Regions from separate parts of the Homo sapiens genome. Here all the other regions are linked to region 1. Evidence: promoter capture Hi-C in 16 types of primary human blood cells and fetal thymus (Javierre and others, 2016). All regions are on one chromosome and are shown on one strand. The core of a region is centred on a gene start or on the middle of the fragment in contact, and the rest is flanking DNA. Distances in the headings are between cores, read along the strand shown. Region 1 holds the start of DOCK3 (dedicator of cytokinesis 3). Region 2 overlaps DOCK3 (dedicator of cytokinesis 3). Region 3 overlaps DOCK3 (dedicator of cytokinesis 3). Region 4 overlaps DOCK3 (dedicator of cytokinesis 3). Region 5 overlaps DOCK3 (dedicator of cytokinesis 3).

Region 1 (2,726 bases), core at 184-2,683:
CTTCTTGGAACAGTTAGCTCTTTCGTTATGTTCTTGGACACCCCTGCTACCCCTAAAAAGAAGTGTACCTGGCTATTGAGAAATTCTATCATTCACAGAACAGACATTTTTCTGGGCGGGAGTGGGCAGCTATGATTAGTGAGAGGAGGAGCCTAAAGGTCCGAAGGTGGGAAGGGGTGGCCATAACCCAGGGGAGCACAGTCAGGCCTGGGAGGAGTTACCAATCATGACACTTTGAACGAAGAATCAACAAGATCTGTTGATTGCAAGATATTCTTCTATTAGTCTGGCTTCCCATGCAACAACTATACAACAGGTGCTGGGTTGGTGGTGAGGGTTTAGAAAGTTGATTTTAGCCTGGAGCTTGCCTTCTGGGAGCTGACAGTCTTATAAGGGAAATAAGACAAACCGAACATAGCTCCAATTCCAGACAAAGAAGGAAAGGAGACTATGGGTCAGGGCAGGCTTCCTGGAGGTGAGGGGCTGAGCTGGGCTTTGAAGAGTGGTGGTGTCTGAGAGTGCTAGTGAAGGATGACACCAGGGTTTTGACTTAGTAGTGCTAGTGACAGAGATGGGCAAATCTGCTGGGATTAGAGCATGTGGTCCAAATGTAGGTGGAAAGGAGAAGTCCTGCAGTTCCTGTTCTTTGGTAAGTGGTTGACTTGGGGGTCACAAGGTGACATTTACAGGCATCAGAATGAATGGATTCTTAGGGAGGAGAGAGAGGAGGAAAGTTTCCGGTAGGAGCCAGTTCTTAGGGCTCCAAGGGAGGCAGACACCCAGGAGCAGCAGATGCCGTGTCCTGGGTAGGAACACGAAGGGCCCAATGAAGCTCTTCCTTACTAGCAAGGCGGCTGTTGATTGTTCTGGCCCCAAACATTCACCACTCAGGCCATCTCAGAGAAGCAAGAACCCAGGAGGTGTCAGCGGCCTCAGCCCACAGGGGATCCAGGAGAGAGGGGCACGAGTGCACCCCACCTGGTTCCCTCGTGGCGACTCCATCCTGCGGGCCCTGGGAATGCACAGGGTGGCTCCGGGGACCTTTCCGACAGCACTGTGGGTGACACTGGGATGGGTCTGAAAATGGTGTCGTGTCCTCCTTTTCTGGATCTCCCCTCTCCGACCAGGAGGCCTGTGGCCATCTCGGGGCGCAGGCAGGAGGCACTGGAAGCGGAAGCGAGTGGGGAGTCCGGGTAGAGGGAGTCGCCCACCTGACCGGCTTCGCCCCCTCCGGGGTTTGCTGCAGCTGAGGGCCCCGGACCAGCGATTCTAGAAGCCGGTCCGGGGCCGGGCAGTCCAATAGCTTCTCGCGGATTTCCCTCCGCTGGCGCGCAGCAGCGGCGCGTGGATTCGCGCGCGGGCTCGGGACGGCGCGAGCCCGGGCAGCGCGAGCCCCTGCGCGGCAGGGAGTGGCGCATGCGCGGGCGTCCTGCGAGCCCGCTGGGGCGAGCCGAGCCGCGGCGGCGCCGGGAGCCGGGCGGCGGAGCTGTGAAGAAGCAAGCGGCGGCACGGGAGCAGCGGCGACGGACAGGTGGCGAGCCTTCGCCCGCGCCGCCAGGGGCTGCTGGGCCACCCGCGGAGCCTCGCGGTCCAGACGTGGCGGGGGTGGCGGCGGCATCCCGGACGGCCTGTGAGGGATGCGCCGCCCACTGCCCCGCGCCGCCTGACCGTCCCCGCCTCGACTCGCGGTGCGCCACAGCCGGGCCCGCGGCCGTCCCCGCCGCGTTGTCGCCCGGTCGCCGCGCCCGCGGGGCCGCGCCCGGCACGGCCATGTGGACCCCCACGGAGGAGGAGAAATACGGCGTAGGTAGGTGAGGCTCAGGCCTGGCCGTGGCGGGGGTTCTGGGGGACGCGCCCAGCTCCCGGCCCCGCCTGGATTCGCATCCTCGTGCCCCCGCCACTGCCCGCAGGCTGCGCGGCCTCGGCGCGGGGCGAGCGCGGGGTGGGGGCAGGTGCGGGTGCGGGTGCGGGTGCGGGGGTGGGCGCGGGTCTCTGTGCAGAGAGGGCGGCAGGGGGCGCTGGCGGTGCGGCCTTGGCAGGTGCGGCCCGCGGGAGGGGTGGGCAAGGCCCGGGCAGTTGCCCGAGGTTTCTGGTGTGGGCCACGGGGCAATTTTACCCGATAAACCAAATTCTGGGAATATGTTTTCTCCCCTCCAAAAGCTCGATTTTAATGAGTTTCCGCACCTGAATTGATGAGCCCGATGGCTGTTTATTTTTGATCTGGAACCTTACAAGAAAACGGATGAAAAACGTTGACATCATTTTCCCAGTTCAAAAATTTGGACATTTGACTGCAAATGTTTGATCTGTTTTAATTTGTTTTGCCTTTAGTATTAGAAATAATACCTTACGATGGGAAATGTTTTTGGACATGTATCAATGTTTATACGGTTTTTTTTTTAAACCCTGTTTTCAGATGAGACCTTATTCCTCTTAGAAACCTTTTTTTAATGTTGTAAGTGTTAAACTCCAGAAGCTAAATAATTCTTACAATATTCAACTTCTTTAAAAAGAATATTCAGTAATTTAAAGTATTGAATGTTTTACAATGTTAGTGTTTTGTGGCAATTACATGATAGAGTTAAGCCTCATTGCATCACCTATCATCTTGTTCAGTTAGAAACAGATTTAAAATGTTGAGTGTACAGGTTTTGTTTTTCCTAAGCTCGTAATGGAAAATTTTAGATAGGAAACCTGTCTAAACATAGATTTTTGTTTCCCATCTT
Region 2 (2,700 bases), core at 107-2,606, 350 kb after region 1:
TTAAGATTTTTTTTTTCACGTTGATCTTGGATAATCAGAATACTGTGTAACTTTGGGATGTTTGTCTTGTGTATCTTGCAGGTGTTCTCTTAATTTCTTGTAGCTGCATGTCAACCTCTAGCAAGATTGGGGAAATTTTTCTGAATTATACCCTCAAATACGTTTTCTAAATTGCTTACTTTCTGTTTTTTTCTCTCAGAAATGAAAATAAGTCATGGGCTTGGTTGCTTTACATAATCCCATATTTCTTGAAGGTTTTGTTTTTTTAAATTGTTTTTTCTTTGATTTTTGTCTGAGTGGGTTGACTCAAAGACTGGTCTTCAAGCTGTGAAATTCTTTCTTCTAATTGGTCTAGTCTGTTGTTAAGGTTTCCAATGCATTTTGAAATTCCTGTAGTGAAATTTTAAATTCCAGTTCTGTTTGGTTCTTTTTTTAATATAGCTATGTTGTCTTTCATATCTTGATCATTTCTCTGGTGACTTTGTATTGAATTTCAACTTCCATGAGAATCTCATTGTGTTTTCTTGCCATCTGTATTCTTAATTCTATATTGTCATTTCAGACATTTTAGTCTGGTTGGCATCCATTGCTAGAGAGCTAGTGTGATCCTTTGGAGGTGAAGAAACACTGGCTTTTTTTATTGCCAGAGTTCTTGTGCTGATTCCTTTTCATCTGAGAGAGCTGATGTTTCTTTTTTTAAAAATTTACTTTAATTTTAATGGGCTTTTTTGATTTTTTATTCTTCTTTCCCTTGAGGATATGACTGTGCTGTATGTTGTATATGATCATTTCTCTTCATTTCTGCATGCTTTCAGAGGGCCAAGGTTTTGTATGGGTTCCTTGGTTACAGATAGGTTCATGTAGTCATTTTCTGAGATGCTACTTGCAACGATGTATTTTTCTTTGGTTGTGTAATTCAGGCTGCAGTCTGGTAGATGGTGTCTAAGAGTAAGAGCCAGCAGGTAGGCTTTTACTTAGTTCATGCTTGCTCACCCTCTGCGGGGCTGGAGCTGCCATAAAAGCATGAAAAGCTCTCTCTCAGCATGTGCTTGGCTTTCAGTGGGGGTGGGGCTGCCAAAGAAGCACAAAAATCATTCTTTTTCAGTGCACACCCACGAGGCCCCAGTGGGAAAGGCATCTGCCATGTCTGCAACAGTGCACTGGGGAGGGGAACAGGGGGAAAGAGATGATTCTCTCTTCATGTTCATTCCCAGGCTTTGGTGGAACCCCCTGAAGTGGTTGGTGCCACACCTGCATTCCCTTTGTCCCAAGGCGGGGCTTTGGTGTGCTGCCCTCCTCCTTCCCTTAGGTGCAGTTTGTGTTGAAGGTTATATCTCCAGGGGACCCACAACTCCCTGGGGATCCAACAGTCCCTCATGCTTGCCAGAGTCAGAGTGGGTTGTGGGGTATGTCTGCTGGTGGTCTAAGGGTGCAGTGGCTCAAGGGTGGAGAATCTCTCATCAGGGCAGTGGTACCACATGTGCACAGCTAGCATGGCACCTGCCATCTCAGTCTGCATCTGAAGGGGCAGGTTCAGCACATCTGCTCAAGGTGGCCACCTGGTTCTCTGTTCCTGAGAAGATCTCTAATTGCCACCTATTGTGTTTCCCTGGGACACGGGGTCGGGGGGTGGGCCAGAGGCGCTCTCCAGCAGTTTGGCAGTAAGCAGATTATCAGAGGGGGAAGGGGAGGAGGAAAGCACTCTCTCCTACTCTTTCTACTGGACTCTGACCTCCTTGGAGGTCAATGCCAGACAGACTTTTGCTGCTCATTTTCTGTGCGCCCCACTTCTTTGGTTGGGCATTCCAACAAGTCCTGGCTCTCCACCTTCCATTTTGCACTCCAAACTTGACCATTCACTAATAACTTTGATCTTTTTTCTGAGAAGAATTTATGCTGTTCCTAGTTGGCCATCTTTTGGTCTGTTTCAGTTGACTGTTTTTTCCATGGTCATGTCTCCTGGTAGGCCTGATAATTTTTAATTGAATCCCAGATATCACGTATGAAAAATTATAGAGGCTTTGCATGCTGTCCTCTTCCCCTATAGAGTGCTCACCTTATCCCCTGGCTATTTGAGTAAGGCAGATTCTTTGATATGGCAGCATTATAGTCATGGTAAGGTATAGTCTACCTCTGATTAGTATCCATTTTTAGGATACACCCTCTAGTGGTTCTAGTTGAGAGGCTAGGTTGTTTACTGTGTGTTGTTTACCTTCTTGTCAAGTTCTGGATCCAATTTTTGTCTCCAAAACACTGCTAAAATCTGTTCTACTTTTAGTTTACTTTCTGCTAGTCATTTTAGTACTGAGTAATAAGCATTTTAAGAATCAGCAAATGTGTCAAGAGGAATAACATCTCCAAGAGCATAGAGCACACCTAAATAGGCTTCTGTTTTCTTTTAAATCTTAGCCCCTCAAGTTTTGACAACCTTGGCAGCACAAACCCCAATTTTTGTCTTCCCCGTCCTGTGTGATTGCCTAAAGCTCTCATCTATTAGTGGCCATCCTCTCTCTGGCTTCTTAGCCTTTCTTGCCAACCTAAGAATCATTAAATCTCTGATTGGGAAAATGGCATGCAAAATGTTGGGCTACCCCACTGAGTTTTCCTTCTTTCCTTGATCTTTGCTTTGTAATGCCTGGCTGTCTTGAAAACTCTTTAACTTCAAAAAGGTATGCTTTGTACTTTTTCATATGTTTTAGC
Region 3 (2,700 bases), core at 95-2,594, 410 kb after region 1:
TGCTGCCTGGAGGCCCAAGGACTGACCTTCCACCATGGGGTCCCACATATACCACCTGGGGACCTAAGGACCAGCCCATCTGATCTTCTTGTTCCTAGCTAAGCCTCACCACAGCATCTACTAACAACCACAGTCTAAGTCACTGCAGAACTCACAGACACCACTGACACTGATTATAGCTGAAGAAATCATATGGAGAGTCTGCTACTGCACTCACCTAGAATCAAATCCAAAGCACCCTACCTAACACTAAATATACATCTATAGGAAAAAGTCTTTCCCTATGTAAACCAATCTATAAAATTAGAACAAGCAGCTGTTACACTGGATGCCCACATATCAATGTAAGGACACAAGAAACATAAAAAAGCAAAGATACATGACACTTCCAAACAAAGACAATAATTCTCTAGTAACAGATCCCATAGAAAAGAAAATGAATGAAATCCCTGAAAAATAATTCAAAATAAGATTAAAGAAGCTCAGTGAGATACAAGAGAACACAGATAAACAATAAAAAATCAGAAAAGCAATTCATGAGTTGAAGTTTAACAAAGAGATATGCATCATAGAAAGGAACCAAACAGAAATCCTGGAACTGAAGCTTTAGTGAATGAAAGAAAAAATACAGTCAAGAGCTTCAACAATAGATGAAATCAAGCAAAAGAAAGACTTTCTGGCCAAGCGCAGTGGCTCATGACTATAATCCCAGCACTTTAGGAGGCCAAGGCAGGTGGATCACCTGAGGCCAAGAGTTCGAGACCAGCCTGACCAACATGGTGAAACCTTGTCTCTACTAAAAATAGAAAAAATTAACCAGGCATGGTGATGTGCACCTGTAGGCCCAGCTACTTGGGAGACTGAGGCAGGAGAATCACTTGAACCCAGGAGGCGAAGGTTGCAGTGAGCCAAGATCACACCACTGTACTCCAGCCTGGGCGACAGAGCGAGACTCCATCTCAAATAAATAAATAAATAAATAAAAGAGTTTCTGAATCTGAAGACAGGTTTTTTGACATCAATCAGATGAAAAGAAAAAAGAGTAAAGAAAGCTTATGTGACATACAGGGTACCAGAAGCAAATAAATATTCAAATTTTGGCAGTTTCACAAGGAGAAGGCATGGGCAAAGATATAGAAAACCTGCTAATGAGATAATAGCTGAAAACTTCACAAGTCTTGCAAGAGATAAAGACATCCAAATACAGAAAGCTCAAATATCCCCAAATAGATGTAATCTAATAAGATTTTAAAGGTATATATATATAATCAAACTATTAAAAATCAAAGACAAATAATTCTAAAAACAGTTAAAAGCATCATGTCACATATAAGGGAATCTCCACCAGACTAATAGCACATTTCTCAGCAGAAACCTTCTAGACCAGGAGAGAATGGGATGACAGATTCAAAGTTCTGGGGTGAGGGATTGGTGGGGGCATGAGGGGAATTGTCAGCCAAGAATACTATACCCAACAAAGCTATCCTTAAATGGAGGTTACATAAAATCTTTCTAGACAAGCAAAAACTGAGGGAATTCATCACCACTGGACCAGTCCTACAAGAAATGTTTCAGGGATTTCTGTATCTGGAAGCGAAAGGACAATGTCTACCATCATGAAAACACACAAAAGTATAAAGCTTACTGGTAGCATACATATACAAATGAGAAAGGAGTTAAACATTACCATCATAAAAAAACCACCAAATCTTAAAGGCAAACAAGAAACAAGGAAGAAAGAAATGAAGAATGTATTAAACAATCACAAAATAATTAACAAAACAACAGGAGTGAGTCCTTACCTGTTACTAACAACCTTGAATATGAACTGTTTAAATTCTCCAATTAAAAAATATAGACTGCCTGAATTGATTTTAAAAATCAAGACCCAACTATATGTTCTCTACAAAAAACTCAGTTTACCTATAACGACACACATAGACTGAAAGTGAAGGGATGGAAAAAAAATTCCATGCAAATAGAAACCTAAAGCATGCAATAATAGCTATACTTATATCAGAGAAAATGGACTTTACATCAAAAAACATAAAAATAGATAAGGTCATTATGTAATGATAAAGGGATCAATTCAGCAAGAGGATATAACAGTTGTAAATATATGTGCATCCAATACCACAGCACCCAGATATATAAGCAAATACTATCAGAGCAAAAGAGTTCAACAGACCCCAATGCATTAATAGTTGGGGACTTCAGCATTACACTTTCAGCACTGGACAGATTATCCAGACAGAAAGTCAACAAACATCAGGCTTACTCTGTTCTATAGAACAAATGTACTTAACAGACATTACAAAATATTTCATTCAACAGTATAGAGCACATATTTTTCTCATCAGCACATGGAACATACTCCAGGATACAGCACATATTAGGCCACAAACAAGTCTCAACAAATTTTGAAAAATCAAAATCATGTCAAGTATCTTCTCAGACCACAGGGAAATAAAACTAGAAATCAATAAAAAGAGGAACTTTGTAAACTGTATAAACACATGGAAATTAAACAGCATGCTCCTGAATAAGCAATGAGTGAATGAACAAATTAAAAAGGAAATTAAAAACTTGCTTGAAACAAGTGAAAATGGAAACACAACATATCCAAATTCTGTGAGATATGGCAAAAGCAGTACTAAGAGGGAAGTTTACAGTAATAAATACCTACATAAAAATTGGAAA
Region 4 (2,700 bases), core at 20-2,519, 270 kb after region 1:
CAGCAACTAGGAAATCTTCATCAAAAAGCTTTGTAGGCGGGGCATGGTGGCTCAGGCCTGTAATTCTAGCACTTTGGGAGGTTGAGGTGAGCGGATCACCTGAGGCCAGATGTTCGAGACCAGCCTGGCCAAGATGGCAAAACCCCATCTCTACTAAAAGTACAAAAAATTAGCTGGGCATGGTGGCAGGAGCCTGTAATCCCAGCTATTCAGGAGGCTGAGGCAGGAGAATTGCTTGAACCTGGGAGGTGGAGGCTGCAGTGAGCTGAGATCGCGTCATCACACTCCTGCCTGGGCAACAAGAATGAAACTCCATCTCAAAAAAACAAAAACAAACACAAACTAACAAATAAAAACCCAAAAAAGCTTTGTAGTTGTTTCCTATCAACTTAAACATGGCATTTTCTGTGAGAGAATTTAACATTCAACTAGAGTATCCTGTTAAGATGACATTTAATAAGATAAGGATAAACTAAAAGGTAAAGGTATGTGTGTTTGCATTAATTTTGACTGTGAATTTTTCCTCAAGTATACAACTGAAGCGTTTTATAATTGTAGATAAATTGCTTCAGTCATTTTGTGTGTACTACTGTAGGGTGACAATATTATTAGAATTTTTGCTTTCCTATTAAAAATTCACCTTTATTTAAGTGGGTATGTATGATGAAGTTTACCATATAGTTTGTTTTTTGTAATGAAACATACTTTAATATAATACTTTAGTATTTAGTATAATACTTTAGTATTTTCATTTTATAGGAAGAGATTAAACACTCTACTAGGGCATAGTTACTGAAGATGACATGCTTTGTAACAGTTCTATTTTGTATTAATATAAGAGATTATGTTTTATTTTTTAAAGAGTCTCTAAGAAATGAACAATTTCTAGATTTTATGAGAAACAAGACACAGTTCTCTGAATTCTGCTGTATAATCCCTTCCTTTAAATCCCTGGAAGATTAAATTTGCAAATGGAAGATGGCATAGCACGTTGAGACCCCTCATAACAGAATATGCAAAATTCCATTATTCATTTTTATGGTTATCCCAAGAATATTGATTTGTTAAAGATTAAGAACATACATTTTTGCACCTTTATATATTCAGATTATGTATAAGAGGAATTTAGGGGAATATCATATAGTGGCTAAGTGCACAGGCTTTGGAAACAGATTTCCTGAATTCAGATTCAAATGTCACAATTTGCTAGCTGCATGATTTTGAGCACTTTAGCTTCACTGTAGGGGATAATGGGACCCACATTCCAGGGTTGTCATGTTGTTTAAATGATATAAAAAGTTTAGGGCCAGTGTAGTGGCTCATTTCTGTAATCCCAGCTACTTGGGAAGCTGAGGCAGGAAGATCATTTGAGCCCAGGAGTTTAAGGCTGCTGTGAGCTATGATTGAGCTACTTTGCTCCAGCTCTGGGCAATAGAGTGAAACCCCATCTCTTAAAAAAAAAAAAAAAAAAAAAAAGGCTTATAACTGTGCCTTGTGCATTTTCAGTGATTAAATGCTTACTCATATTTGACTTTTGTTGCTATTTCATAGGAATGGGTATTTACTGTTGTAGGAGTCTGTTACTGAAGAAGGGCTTTGACGTGCTTTAGCCCTACTATTTTTCAAATATATACTAGTTCCCTATCTTACCCCACCCTCAACTTTTTAATCTTTGGAAGATAATGCCCGTTTTTTGCTGCATTAAAGATATATTTTGTACATAACAAGATATGATAGTTTCAAAGATTTTTCTCTCAATGTAATTAAAATTAGTATTTTAACTATGTAAGGCTATCTTTTGTTTTTTGAAGATAACTTTTAGTGTATTTCATCTTAGCTAGGTTTACAATCTAAAAGTATATTTTGGCAGACACCCTAGTGGCTATCCAGTATCCAGAATCTTCTTCCTTGTTAAAAGATCTCAGAACTGTTTAGGTAGGCAGTGTGTACAGCTAAAAAGTATTCATCTTTCCTGACTCCCTTGAAGCTAGGGGAGGTTGTATGATACACTTCTGGCTATAAGAAATAAGAAGTAGTTTGTACAAGGGATTTCTGGAAATGCCATTGTTTTGCTTGTAGCAGACTGCATTGTCACAAGATTGTTTTCTTGTAACTGCATTAGCATGCTCATTAGCCCATCGTCCTTCATCCTTCTCTCTTTTTAGTTTTGGGTAAGCTTATGATGCAGTTGCTGTCTTATTACCAGGATATGACAACTACAAGGTTAAAAATTTTATTCCAGGGATGTCAGGATGCAACGATGGAAGATGTCTAAAACTTTGTTCACATTGTACAGTCACTGTAAAAATCCTATTTAACTTCTAAACTTTTTATGTGAGAAAATAGTTAAATCCTGTTAACAACAGGATAAAAAAACCAAACACAAACCTAATTGATCTATGAGATGTCACTGAGGAATAGTGAACTGACTCATTAAATGATTGATTCCCACTACTTTTAATTTACTAGTTTTTTTTTATGTGATATAGTGAGCTTACCTTCACTACTGTCTGTATTGAAATAGAAATTGATTCTCAAATTATTTATATAAATATATGTTTTAAAATTGACTTTTTCTTCAAAATGTGATTTATTTTAATTTTGTAATATATAGCTTTCACACCAGACATAGTCAACTTATAATAGTTTGAAAGCATTTAGTCCCCAAGAAGACATGGTAACTACAGAAGAGATAACCTA
Region 5 (2,700 bases), core at 139-2,638, 380 kb after region 1:
ATTACTTTAGAGGGATTAGAAGAGGGCCTGGCTTTTGATGGAAAAAGTAGAGCAGCTGTCAATATTTCTGGATCTTTTCCCCTGGGCTGAGTTTTCCTAAAGAGGAATCTTCTCCATTCTTCATATGCAGGTATCAGCCTGGTTGTTAACATCTGGGGAGCTCGATGTGGAAAGCACACTGGGAAAGGGTTGGGGGTAAAGGGGGATAATACTTCTAGGCTTCAGAGATTTCTGGTACCTCCAGTCTCAGAGCCTTTCTGCAGAGGCTTGCATCTTACTGATTTCTTCCCTGTTTCCCACCCTCCTCACTTGTCTTCCTCCACCTTACTCTTAGGGCTTTTTTAGTTTTCTATTCTTTGACAAGTCATCTACTTTCCAGCTTTCACCTTTAATGTTTGGTGGAGTGGATAGTTGTGCATGGGAAGGATTGAGGCTGGCTTTTTATTAGTCTCCCTAAGAAGAGATGCCTATGGACACATCGAGGACTGACTTTAAGTAGAGATTTGATCTGTCCTGTGTAGTAGGAGTGACTGTGAGCCTGAGAACGCCTCAGCTGTTTACTGCCCACTGTTAGGTAAGTCTGCCTTGTTCAGAATTGTGAATGGATGCCCTTCACTTGGCATCTATCCATCCGTGAATGGATGACTTCAGCAACTACAGCCTCCATTGTCATATCTCTAATATTTTTTCTACCTTTCTACCTTTGGTGTTGTTCCTTTCTTATGAAGATCTGCTCTGTGGAATAGAAAGATTTTTACAAATCTTAGCTCTCCTGCAAATATATGTGTTGTAAGAGAGGATTAGAGCTATAATGCTATTTGTTATTTGGAATATCAACTCTATAATGGAGGATGTATTTGGGCTGGGGATAGACTGAGGATGATATCATGGCCCTTGAGATGTGGAGGAGTTAGATGTATGTGCCAAGGAAATACATATTGTATGGATACTTCCTCATATTAATGAAGAGAAAAAGAATTTTCATATCGCTTCTTTGCATTTTCATTTGTTGTAAATATGTGCTTGAAAATCAGTGTGAATTAGCTTTGGTTTAGATACTGTTTTGTTTCACAAAAATTTCTATCTTTTGTACTCAGTTGCTGACTATGTTGTTCGGCAAACTAAAATGAAAGTTTAGATTCCTGGGTTTAAAGGTATTTTATTATTATTATTTTTATTTTATTTATTTTTTGAGACGGAGTCTCGCTCTGTTCCCCAGGCTGGAATGCAGTGGCACAATCTCGGCTCACTGCAAGCTCTGCCTTCCAGGTTCACACCATTCTCCTGCCTCTGCCTCCCGAGTAACTGGGACTACAGGTGCCCGCCACCATGGCTGGCTAATTTTTTGTATTTTTAGTAGAGACGAGGTTTCACAGTGTTAGCCAGGATGGTCTCGATGTCCTGACCTCGTGATCCACCCACCTCAGCTTCCCAAAGTGCTGGGATTACAGGCGTGAGCCACTGTGCCTGGCCATTTAAAGGTATTTTTGACATAAAGGTCATTAGGGTTCCAAGTACTGTAGTCTAGAAATCTTTTCATTATATTGGGATGAGTTTTGGAATATAAGAAAACATCTAGAATAGGATTAGAGGTTACTTCATGAGAAGAGACTTGAAGATTAGTAGTAATGAAAAAAGAATGCTGTTTTGGGAGTTTTGAATAAACTCAAGTTCTTAATGGTTAATTTGTTAAAAAGAAAGTGAGAAAAAACCCATCTACTTATGTATAAAGGAATATTCAAAAAGAAAATGTAAAATAGGGGAGATCTGGTAATCTTCCCACAACAACATTGGAAGGAAACAATGTTTATCTTCCATTAAATTGATTTTGATGTAAAGTTTTTAGTACTAGTGGCAGGACATTATTCTCTTTGAGGATAGCAAAATTTCTGATGTCATTTTTATTTAATTAGATTTTTATGATGCTGTGTTTATATTAATTGGTCCGTAAGCATATGTAGTTTTAAAATAAAGGTAATATACTTTCTGGCAAATGCCCTACAACTTTGCTCATTTACTGACTTAGAGGCATCACTGTGGCACAACGTTTCTTTCCATACTGGGTTAAAAATAATTTAGCAAAAATTATCTTTAAAACAGGAGCACTAAAACATATTCTTTTTTTCTGCAGAGCTCCAGGGATTGTTTCACAACAGTGAGGCAAATTGTACTTGGCATGCGTTTGTAAAGTAGTTTAATCATTCTAAATTTATGGTTTCTGCTGACTCTTCAGTGTACTTTCCAAATAATCTGTGACTGATCTTGACAAATATTAGTCTGTAGGGTTTTTGCAGAGGCTGGATGTGTTGCTAAGATGAGCTATACAGATTTCTTCTGCCCAATCTCCTCCTCATTGAATTTTCCTTTTATTTTAGCAGTGACAGGAAATAGGGATGATTGTGCCAGAAAACAAAACCTGTAGTGCCAACCTAATTATACTGTTACTTTAATCCACTGAGGAGCAGGTCTCTAAGTAGAAAAGGATTGTTTTTCCTGAGTGAGGTATTCAGCTGTTTTGTGGCATCAGATCATTCTAGGTGAATGTATGCTCTGGTGCTAGTCACCCAGATTGCTCACCTTGAGTGGTATATACTGTCTTATGCTAACAAGCCCAAGAACACAGTGCGGTGTCGGAGCAATGTTGGTGGAGCCTCTACTGCTAGGGTCTCTGGTCAGAGAGGTCATTAGGTTGGCCCGGAA

Evidence for each region. The method cuts DNA at HindIII sites, captures the fragments that hold promoters and counts their contacts. A CHiCAGO score of 5 or more calls a contact.
Region 2: a contact is called between a fragment that was not itself captured here and the fragment with the promoter of DOCK3 in region 1, in 1 of 17 cell types (M2 macrophages). The highest score is 5.4, in M2 macrophages.
Region 3: a contact is called between a fragment that was not itself captured here and the fragment with the promoter of DOCK3 in region 1, in 1 of 17 cell types (M2 macrophages). The highest score is 5.9, in M2 macrophages.
Region 4: a contact is called between a fragment that was not itself captured here and the fragment with the promoter of DOCK3 in region 1, in 1 of 17 cell types (M2 macrophages). The highest score is 7.0, in M2 macrophages.
Region 5: a contact is called between a fragment that was not itself captured here and the fragment with the promoter of DOCK3 in region 1, in 1 of 17 cell types (M0 macrophages). The highest score is 5.2, in M0 macrophages.

What each region holds. Positions count from the first base shown.
Region 1 is chr3:50,673,494-50,676,219 of GRCh38, forward strand. It overlaps DOCK3 (dedicator of cytokinesis 3), which reads left to right and starts at 1,434. Exons shown (of 53, transcript NM_004947.5): 1 at 1,434-1,807. The coding sequence starts at 1,771. MIR4787 (microRNA 4787) reads left to right here and starts at 1,587; the gene lies at 1,587-1,670. RefSeq lists a silencer at 1,398-1,687. The HindIII fragment of the contact is 16,225 bases long and covers 1-2,726 here.
Region 2 is chr3:51,028,350-51,031,049 of GRCh38, forward strand. All of the region lies in intron 5 of DOCK3 (dedicator of cytokinesis 3), which reads left to right. Among named protein-coding and RNA genes, the nearest start is that of MIR4787, 350 kb to the left of the region's middle. The HindIII fragment of the contact is 3,047 bases long and covers 1-2,700 here.
Region 3 is chr3:51,083,023-51,085,722 of GRCh38, forward strand. All of the region lies in intron 7 of DOCK3 (dedicator of cytokinesis 3), which reads left to right. Among named protein-coding and RNA genes, the nearest start is that of MANF, 300 kb to the right of the region's middle. The HindIII fragment of the contact is 588 bases long and covers 1,051-1,638 here.
Region 4 is chr3:50,944,642-50,947,341 of GRCh38, forward strand. All of the region lies in intron 5 of DOCK3 (dedicator of cytokinesis 3), which reads left to right. Among named protein-coding and RNA genes, the nearest start is that of MIR4787, 270 kb to the left of the region's middle. The HindIII fragment of the contact is 1,810 bases long and covers 365-2,174 here.
Region 5 is chr3:51,055,075-51,057,774 of GRCh38, forward strand. The region is part of intron 5 of DOCK3 (dedicator of cytokinesis 3); the gene reads left to right. Among named protein-coding and RNA genes, the nearest start is that of MANF, 330 kb to the right of the region's middle. The HindIII fragment of the contact is 2,995 bases long and covers 1-2,700 here.